Regions from separate parts of the Homo sapiens genome. Here region 1 is linked to region 2. Evidence: promoter capture Hi-C in 16 types of primary human blood cells and fetal thymus (Javierre and others, 2016). All regions are on one chromosome and are shown on one strand. Each heading gives the region's core, a stretch centred on a gene start or on the middle of the fragment in contact. The rest is flanking DNA. Distances are from core to core; before and after follow the strand shown. Region 1 holds the start of HAT1 (histone acetyltransferase 1). Region 2 holds the start of SCRN3 (secernin 3).

Evidence for each region. Contacts are between HindIII fragments. The CHiCAGO score rates a contact against its expected background, and 5 or more counts as called.
Region 1: the fragment with the promoter of HAT1 here is called in contact with the fragment with the promoter of SCRN3 in region 2 in 1 of 17 cell types (non-activated CD4 T cells); the score reaches 6.2 in non-activated CD4 T cells.

What each region holds. Positions count from the first base shown.
Region 1 is chr2:171,919,893-171,924,447 of GRCh38, reverse strand. It overlaps HAT1 (histone acetyltransferase 1), which reads right to left and starts at 1,987. Exons shown (of 11, transcript NM_003642.4): 1 at 1,941-1,987. The coding sequence starts at 1,947. It overlaps LOC105373740 (a long non-coding RNA gene), which reads left to right and starts at 2,059. Exons shown (of 3, transcript XR_923579.2): 1 at 2,059-2,409; 2 at 3,217-3,368. RefSeq lists enhancers at 1,713-1,762, 1,903-2,551. The HindIII fragment of the contact is 14,743 bases long and covers 1-2,448 here.
Region 2 is chr2:174,394,187-174,399,144 of GRCh38, reverse strand. SCRN3 (secernin 3) reads right to left here and starts at 3,415. Exons shown (of 8, transcript NM_024583.5): 1 at 3,328-3,415; 2 at 703-870. The coding sequence starts at 861. CIRSR (corepressor of RBPJ and splicing regulator) reads left to right here and starts at 3,433. Exons shown (of 10, transcript NM_004882.4): 1 at 3,433-3,594. The coding sequence starts at 3,523. RefSeq lists enhancers at 2,487-2,987, 3,485-3,534. The HindIII fragment of the contact is 1,293 bases long and covers 3,103-4,395 here.

The sequences.
Region 1 (4,555 bases), core at 738-3,237, 2.5 Mb after region 2:
GCCGAGGCAGGGGGATCGCGAGGTCGAGACGGATATCATCCTGGCCAACATGGTGAAACCCCATCTCCACTAAAAATACAAAAATTAGCTGGACGTGGTGGCGCGTGACTGTAGTCCTAGCTACTCCGGAGGCTGAGGCAGAATTGCTTGAATCCAGAAGGCAAAGGTTGCCGAGATCGCGCCACTGCACTCCAGCCTGGTGACAGAGCGAGACTCAGTCTCCAAAAAAAAAAAAAATCAGTAAAAATTCAGACAGAAAAAAGCCATAAGCAAAAAATAAAAAGGGGTACAATGATGTGCTATAAACTTCAAAAAGGGGTTAAAACACACACACAGAAAATGGGAAAGACTTGAAGCAGTACAGATTAATAGTCTGGAGTGAGAATTCCTGGATTCTGACTATTTCACACACTTACTGAGCTAGTAAGCTCAGGGAACTAGAGCACATTACTTAACCCCTCTGACCCTAATCTACAGAACCGAGATTACAGAATTTACTTCGAGGAATGTAAGCAACAAAATTTAACCTGTGAAATCATATATTAGCTCAATCTGCACAATTCTATAAGTAGGTATTACATCAACCCCATTTTACATTCAAAAGTTCAGGCTTAGAAAGAGGTTTAGTTGAAGGGCATCCAACTACTAAATGATGGGCCCAAAATTCGAATTTAGATGTAATTCTTAGAGTACGTCCTCCCTCTTCTGTGGTACTTCAAGATCCTACAATCTCCATCTGGTAGAAAAGTCCTTCTTTAAACATCTGTAGAGCTCACACAACAGCTTGTCTATCCCACATATTCATAAAAATGGAATGGTTAATGTAGAGAGACTATGAGGAATGCCCTGTAAAGAGATGATAAAAGCAACAAAGGCCAGCGAAGTGGCTCAATCCTGTCATTCCAACACTTTGGGAAGCTGAGGCGAGAGGATGGCTTGAGGCCAAGAGTTCCAGACCGGCCTGAGGCAATACAGCCAGACTCTGTCTCTAAAAGGTTAAAAAAAATTGTTTTTTTTTAGCCGAATGTTGTGGCGCATGCCTGTAGTCCTAGCTACTCGGGAGGCTGAGGCAAGAGGATCGCTTGAGCCTACGAGGAGTTGGAAGCTGCCCGGAACTATGATCGCTGCACTCCAGCCTGGGCGACAGAGAGACCCTGTCTCAGGAAAAAGAAACTGTCCATAACTTCAAAAGATAAGTAATCGAAAAAAATAATCACACCAAAACAGCCTTAATACACGTACAAAGTAATAGCAATTATACATTATTAAATGTTGTAACTTGAAGGGTCTCTAGAATGTACACAAGAGAATTGTATTATAGTAGTCCAACCCTAAAAGAGAAGGGAGCAGTTCAGGAACAAAGTCTTTCTCAAAGGGCATCTAAATACGATCCTCGGAATACTAAAGTGTGACAGATTAACGAGACGACTACGAAGTCAGTCGAGATCCAAGTGGGAGCGCCAGAGCAGGGCAAGGCAGCAATGCGCTAGCTCAGAAGTTGACTGTAGTGGAAGGTAGACGGAGACCTGGAAGAGGAGGAGGATCTGAGCATTAAAATCAGCTGGCGGGAACAGGACCAGATGTACAAGAGCTGAAGCAAGCAGCAGTGGACAAAAGGAATGGGAAGAGAAACAGGCCCCAAGGCATGTGGCATTTTACGAGCCCAAATCATGACGCTTTTCCCTGGCGTCTTCGGCCCTCGGTAGGGGCCGGATTGCTGGCAGAAGGCGCAGAACCCCAAGCAGTTGGGGGCGGGGGCGCGGACCGCCGCCAACAAGGAGCTGCTGGGCTGAGAGTTCCGCGCTTCCGGTCCCAAGCAGGCCTTCTGGAACCCAGGCTACAGCCCGAAAGTTCTAGGCGGGCATTGTCACCACCGTCTCGGCGTTCTATCCCCGATCTGGCCGCCTCCTCCCCTTGGTAAACTTTTCCCGGTAACTTACCCGCCATTTCCGAGCTACGATCACCCGCGGCTGAGGAAGGACGAATCAACCCGCGCGCTCCCGGGCCGGAAGTGACCGCACAGTCTGACATATTTTCCCCGCCCACTCCCAGCGTGACGTTAGCCAATTAAAGGAGGCGTGTCCAGGAGCCCGGCGGCGGAAGCGCCTCAAGAGGCGGGGCTAACGCCGAGAAGTCTGCGCGGGCCGTTGCCTAGCCACTGCGAATGCCGTCAGCCGCTTTGCAGGCCTGAAGTGGAGAAGGAGGCCGCAAACGGACTTTCGCGGTTGAGATGCTCTCTGGCCCTAGGAAAGTTTCTCTGGGGTTGATTTGATCAATACAGACACTTTACGCCTGTTTTCCATACCCGTCCCTGAGATGTTTTGGAGACTGGCTGAAAATCTTTCCTCTTGGCCTGGACAGTGCATCCAAACACCTGAGCCCTGTGGGCAATTTTACCATTTTACCTAGGTAAAATGTAGAGGTTGAGTTTCAGTTGCGGGAGAAGCTTTCACTTGTTTTCCTCATTTGTTTCTCATTTTGCTGTAAACTTTAACACCTTTTTTCCTTTCTCCCCTGTTTTTAACGTATACAGTATGATATTTAGGTACTCTGCTTTCACTCTGCAGGTTACTAAGAACCGTTTAGCGCGCAAAAATCGTTACCTAGGCCGGGCGCGGTGGCTCACGCCTATAATCCCAGCACTTTGGGAGGCCGAGGCGGGTAGATTGCCTGAGCTCAGGAGTTCGAGACCAGTGTAGCCAACATAGTGAAACCCCGTCTCTACTAAAAATACAAAAATTAGCCAGGCATGGTGGCAGGCGCCTGTAATCCCAGCTACTCGGGAGGCTGAGGCAGGAGAATCGCTTGAACCCTGGAGGCGAAAGTTGCAGTGAGCCGAGATTGCGCCACTACACTCCAGCCTGGGCAACAGAGTGAGACTCCGTCTCAAAAAAAAAAAAAAATTGTTACCTAATAAATACCTCAAGTAGCCTGATGTAGTCTTGCATGCCACATGTCCTAGTGGTTTGAATTACATCACAAGGTGCTACCTGATTTTAGCCATAGGCCTTGTTAGTATTTAGTAGCTGTAGGAACTGCTTTCCCCAGAGGATAAACCACTATTTAGGTATCCACAAATATTCCCACAATGTTGGCTATACACCAGAATTCCTTATCTCAACAAATATTTGTTAACAGGTTTTACAGTGATGCACGCTAAAGCTAAAATGGACCCTTGGGATGATGGTCTAGAACTAACACGCCCTCTCATTTTAGAGATGAGGAAACCAAAGCCCAGAAAAGATAAACTGCCCAAGTTCATTCTCAGTATGCAACCTATGCAGAGTGCAGTTCATCAGATACTCAGCCCAGTATTTATTTGCTCAACTATATAGAGATGGCTTTCCTGAAGATAAAGATCAGAAAAGGTACTGAGAATGCCCAGATCCTTTTTCTTTCTTTTTTTTTTTTTTTTTTTTAGACGGAGTTTCACTCTTGTTGCCCAGGCTGGAGTGCAATGGCACAATCTCAGCTCACCACAGCCTCCGCCTCCCGGGTTCAAGCGATTCTTCTGCCTCAGCCTCCTGAGTCGCTGGGATTACAGGCATGCGCCACCACACCCAGCAATTTTGTATTTTTGTAGAGACGGGGTTTCTCCATGTTGGTTAGGCTGATCTCGAACTCCCAACCTCAGATGATCTGCCCATCTCGGCCTCCAAAAGTGCTGGGATTACAGTCGTGATCCCAAGAAAAGGTTTCAAGATCCTTTTTCTTGAAACCTAATGATACACAAGAAATTACAGTCATAGGCCGGGCGTGGTGGCTCACGCCTGTAATCCCAGCACTTTGTGATGCCGAGGCGGGCGGATCACGAGATCAGGAGATCCAGACCATCCTGACTAACATGGTGAAACCCTGTCTCTACTAAAAATACAAAAAAAGTAGCCGGGCGTGGTAGCGGGTGCCTGCAGTCCCAGCTACTCAGGAGGCTGAGGCAGGAGAATGGCGTGAACCTGGAAGGCGGAGCTTGCAGTGAGCCGAGATCCCGCCACTGCACTCCAGCCTGGGCAAGAGCGAGACCCCGTCTCAAAAAAAAAAAAAGAAATTACAGTCATAATGTTAAGACAGAAAACTGAAATCAATGAGACTAATGACATTATGGATCAAAAAAGGAAAACAATCTTTTTCTTTAATAATCATTTTTGGCTAGGCACGGTGGCTCACACCTGTAATCCCAGCACTTGGGAGGCCAAGGCAGGCAGATCACCTGAGGTCAGGAGTTTGAGACCAGCCTGGCCAACATGGTAAAACCCTGTCTCTACTAAAAAGTACAATAAATTAACCAGGCGTGGTGACATGAGCCTGTAATCTCAACTACTTGGGAGGCTGAGGCAGTAGAATCGCTTGAACCCAGGAGGCGGAGGTTGCAGTGAGCTGAGATAGTGCCACTGCACTCCAGCCTGCTCAAGAGAGCGAGACTCCATCTCAAAAAAAAAAAAAAACTTTTCTTTTCAAAATGGCAAGACTTATCATTTCTTTCCAAAATCACCTTATCTATGGATCAATTGCTGACCAGCAATTATGATCTTTATAAGTAAGAAATCAAGAAGAATTA
Region 2 (4,958 bases), core at 2,166-4,665:
GCAACAATAGCATAATTTGAAGCTCTCATTTTAAGTTCCACATTAAATGGGTTTTTAAAATAAGTTTTTAAAGGATCCTTTAATTAATGTGTATACTACCAAGTGACTGCATAAAATGTATATTGATAGTGTTAACATAGGGCCTAATAAACCTTTTTTGATGTGTCATAAAACTGTCATTCCTAAAGTCTGGGATGACTTTCCTATTCTACATCAAGTAGAACCTAAGCCAATTCAGAATCAGAATCCTTTTTGTCCATCAAATTCCAGCTAACTCCAAGCTGAATTAAATGTTCATTCTCTTCCGCTGCCACAGCATGCTACTGTTACTTAAATTTAGCATTTAAACCATCCTATTTTATAATGGGGTATAATGCATACACATCTTATTGCTATACTAGACTCTAAGCTCCTGGAACAGAGTCTTGACAGCTGACTTTAAATCTCTTGCCCTATCTAACATGCTTGCATATGGAAAGCATTCAAATATTTATTCAAACAATGGATAATTTTATTATTGTTATTTCAACGTCCTCCGAATCACTGAAATAAAAGATCACAGTTTATTTCTGACTCATTTATTTTTCAAATGTAAACTCCTCAATTTTAACTTCTACAGTTTCTTCCAAATTGCTATGTATAGAAATAACTTTATGATATTTTTAAAAGGCATATTGCTAACAAAACATTTATTTCACCTACCTTAAGACGTTCTCCCAGGTTATCATGAACTACAGCAGGAAAATAAACCACCTCTTGTACTTCATCATAGAGTCTATCTGAATTTTTTCCAAAAATAATCCTGTTATCGACTGTTGCTGGAGGTAATGCCACGAAAGTGTCACAGGAAAAAGGTTCCATTTTTTTTAACTAAAAATTATACAGATGTTTTAAAATAAAAAGAACACTTTTAAGTATATAAAAATAAAGAGTTTTACTCAATGACCAAAGGATATTATTGCCATATCTAATTAAGGATGTTCATTAAAGCTTTGATTTTTTTATTTTTATTTTTTGGAGACAAGGTCTAGCTCTTTCACCCAGGCTGGAGTGCAGTTGTATGATCAGGGCTTACTGCAGCCTGGAACTCCTGGGCTCAGGAGATCCTCCCCCTTCTGCCTCCCAAAGCCCTGGGATTACAGGCATGAGTGACCGTGCTTGGCTGTTCATTAAAGTTTTAAATTTTGTATACTACAGCCTAAAAATCAGTAAGAATATGACTTGGGACTCAATCTGGTACTACAACTCAGTAAGAAAATGGCAATGAGAACTACCTTCTTCTACTGTATAGTTCACATTTATTCTCTAAGACCTTTCTCTCCTAAAGTCTTCCCTGAATTTCGTTTCACCATTTCCATATTTGGGAATCCGTGTACCTAGCTCTATTGTTGTAAAGGCTAGATTCCATTACATTCGTGTATATATAAATCCCTTTACTGGACAATGAGATCCTTGAGGGCTGGGAGTATGTCTTACTAATCTTTATATTCTCTTTGCTGGAACTTGTCTTATGGAAAAAAATCTTACGTGCCCAGTACTTCCTCAAAGGAAGGAAGAAGGGGTCTTATTTGAGCTGGGAAATAATACACATTATAATTCTGATGAGACTGAAATTTTGAAACAGACTCATTGATTCAGACAAAAATATGTCAATATAATTCCAAATTGCTGATATTTCTAGGAGAAAGTTCACATATTTAATTTATAAATCGCAATTATATACTTTAATATCTAGATTACCTCTTCAGTTGTAACTTGGAAAATCTTAGATCTTCACTTATAATAGAACACCTAAAGGTCCTTATTTTGCTGCCAGAACAGACACATTGTTTTACAGAGTTTCCTTCTTTCCTTTAATAATGGCAAAACCTTAAAATGGCTTTACACAGGCAGATGCTAGCAACTTAAAAACAAAATTTAAATATAATAAATGTTTCCTTAAAAAGAAAAGAAAATGACTAAATAAAAACTTCAGACTGAAACTCTTAAGGGTTTTCCTCTTCTCCTCAGTGACGAGAAGTCTGATGTCTTGATGGCTTCTGTTATTTTCTTTCTGTATTTCAACTCTTATGTCCTGGATCTCCTTCTATTTGTGTTTTATAGTTAGTTCTATCACTATATAACTTTGGCAGACTATTTAATCTCTCTCTTACCTATGCCTTCTGCCTCATCAGAAAAATAAGACACTATTTGATGGGCTGTTATGAGAACTTAATAAGGCAACACGTAAAGTGTTTTGCACAGTGCATAGAACATAGTAGATACTCACATGAAAGCTGTTATTGTTATTATTTGGTAGGAGAGAAAATTTCTCATAAAGGCTTATTCGTTTTTTGTTTTTTTTTTTTGATGGAGTTTAACTCTTGTTGCCCGGGCTGGAGTGCAATGGAGCAGTCTTGGCTCACTGCAACCTCCGCCTCCCGCGTTCAAGTGATTCTCCTGCCTCAACCTCCCGAGTAGCTGGGATTACAGGCGCGTGCCACCACACCCGGCTAATTTTTCGTGTTTTTAGTAGAGACGGGGTTTCACCATGTTGGCCAGGCTGGTCTTGAACTCCTGACCTCAGGTGATCCACCCACCTTGGCCTCCCAAAGTGCTGGGATTACAGGCGTGAGCTACCGCGCCCGGCCAAGGTTTATTCTTAACATTACCCTGATAGAGAACTTGGTTGGTGGATCACCTGCTGCAGTAGCAGCCACGTCCACTCAAAAACCTGGAGTCCCAAGGGCCATCAAGCTGCAATAGTAACCTGAGCTGCCTAACTGGGGTCGTAGGGAAAGCTAAGGAAACTTGCCCCCTGGTTAGAATTGCACCTAGCCCACTGAGGAGGTGAAGCCTTGAGAGATTTTACCAACTCCTAACGCGTATTCGTCATTCAATAAGTATTTATTGAACGTCTTTCGGCGCCAGTACCGTACAGCTGGGTACAAAATAGACAGGGCCTCCGTTCTTGCAGAGCTGTCTGTCATTCTATTTCACGCGCTCTTAGTTCAGCCGGCGCTTTCAGAAACATCATATTGTTGGATTCTCGCAAGCATACTACGGTTAGGGCCGGAATTATTATCTTCATAACATAGATGAGAAAAACAGTGCAGAAAAGCTTTTGCAGCTCGAGTCAGAGTCCACAGAAAGTAATGGGCTCGAGCTTCAAGCACCTTTGGTCGAAGGGCCGCCGCGGTCCACCCCGCACCCCGGCCCTGGGCGCTCAAACCGCAGCCGGTGCAGCTGGGCTCCGGAGCCCCTCGGTCAAGCAGTGCCGCGCCACAGTTGGGTCTTCCGGGTTTCTGTCTCAACTATGCACGCCCCTCCCCCGTGCGCGCCCCTCACCTGGCCTCCCAGCTACCCGAAGTGACAGGTGGACGGAGGGAGGAGTGGCCAGTGGAGGCATCAGTTGCCGGAAGCTGTCACCTTTGATCTCGGAAGTTCCCCCTTGCTGCTGGAAACGCAGTTCCGGTTAGGCGGCTGAGTTTGTTTACGTTGCTAACAGATCTAGCCCCTGCTTTCCCTAGTTCCAGTTCCAAGATGGGGAAATCCTTCGCCAACTTCATGTGCAAGAAAGACTTTCATCCTGCCTCCAAATCCAATATCAAAAAAGTGAGTAAACAGACCCGGGGAGGGATTAGGCCCACAGGGACCGCCTTCCCAGAGGCTGCTGGAAGTGAAAGTGATGGTGTCTCTGAGATCCCTAGGACAGCCTCCGCTTCTCTAGGCCTAAAGCCCTGGTGGTCTCGCCTTTCTCTGCTGAGCAGCTCGCTGACGCAGCGGGTCCTCAGCGTTTATTCTGCAACAGCGAGGAGACCGGTGGCCTAGAGAATCTTTGTCGGCCAGAATGCAAATCCATAATATGCGAAGACTAATGTCAAAATTCCTCAGTACTTCCTTCAGCTGATTCTGGTTTTTTGTCTTTTCGGATCCCAGGGATCACGGCTTCTGAACTCTACTTTTCTGTACAAAGAAGCCTCCCCGTTTACTTAAGATAGATCTTTAAAAAAATTACCTAATAATCTAGTGTCTTTTTGATGACTAAACTCGTTGAAGTTTAGTGTTTTACATAATTACAGGTCTACCAGTTGTAATACTTTGGTGAATATCATAGTAATGAAAAGCAAAAGAGTGAAGTAGAAAGAATCAGCTTTGGAGTCAAACCTGGATTCTAGTTATTCGAGCAGTCACTTTTAGCCTTAAGACCTTGCACAAAATATTTGTAATATCTGACCCTCAGTCTTCTAATCTGTAAATTAAGGATGATTGACTTAATTGTGAGGATTAAGTGAAATAGTGAAGATAAAGGATTTGAAACAACGTAGGCATCTATCACTGTGTCCACTACAGAGAGGAGGTGCTCAATAAAATGTTGATTGCCCCTACATAGAAACTTGTGAAAATAACTAAGCTTTTATTTGTTTTTAGAACGAGTTGAGGTGATGAGATACTGCTATATACTCTCACTTCTAGACCAGTGATTCTCAACTTTTTTTTCACTGTTACCTTCCTAAGGAGTCTTATTAAACATTTTTTCTTAATAACTCCCCCATGAAATTTTAATAACACAGATACACCTTGAAAGCTCTTTGGTAATCATCCAGCCCCATCTCCTCATTTTATAAATGAGGAAACAAATTTGCCAAGAGTTACACAGCTAGTTAAATGTTGTACCAGAACTAGGATCTGGAACACCTGATTAACCCAGTGATTTTTTTTCCACTGCACCAGTTTGTGTTTGTGTGGTTGCAACTGTGGGAGGGAGAGGTTTCTTGTATTTGGTTGGCTCAATAACTTTTGACACCAAACACAGACATTTCCTTTCTCTGCATACTTAGGGGGTCAGCTGTTACTATTTTTACAAGAATGAAGAGATTAGATGGAATTCAGGTGCTTGCTTATTTGCTGTTTATATTTAGAGACAAATATACCTGAGAAATCATAATTTTTTACTGGAACTTTTGACATTTCGCTTT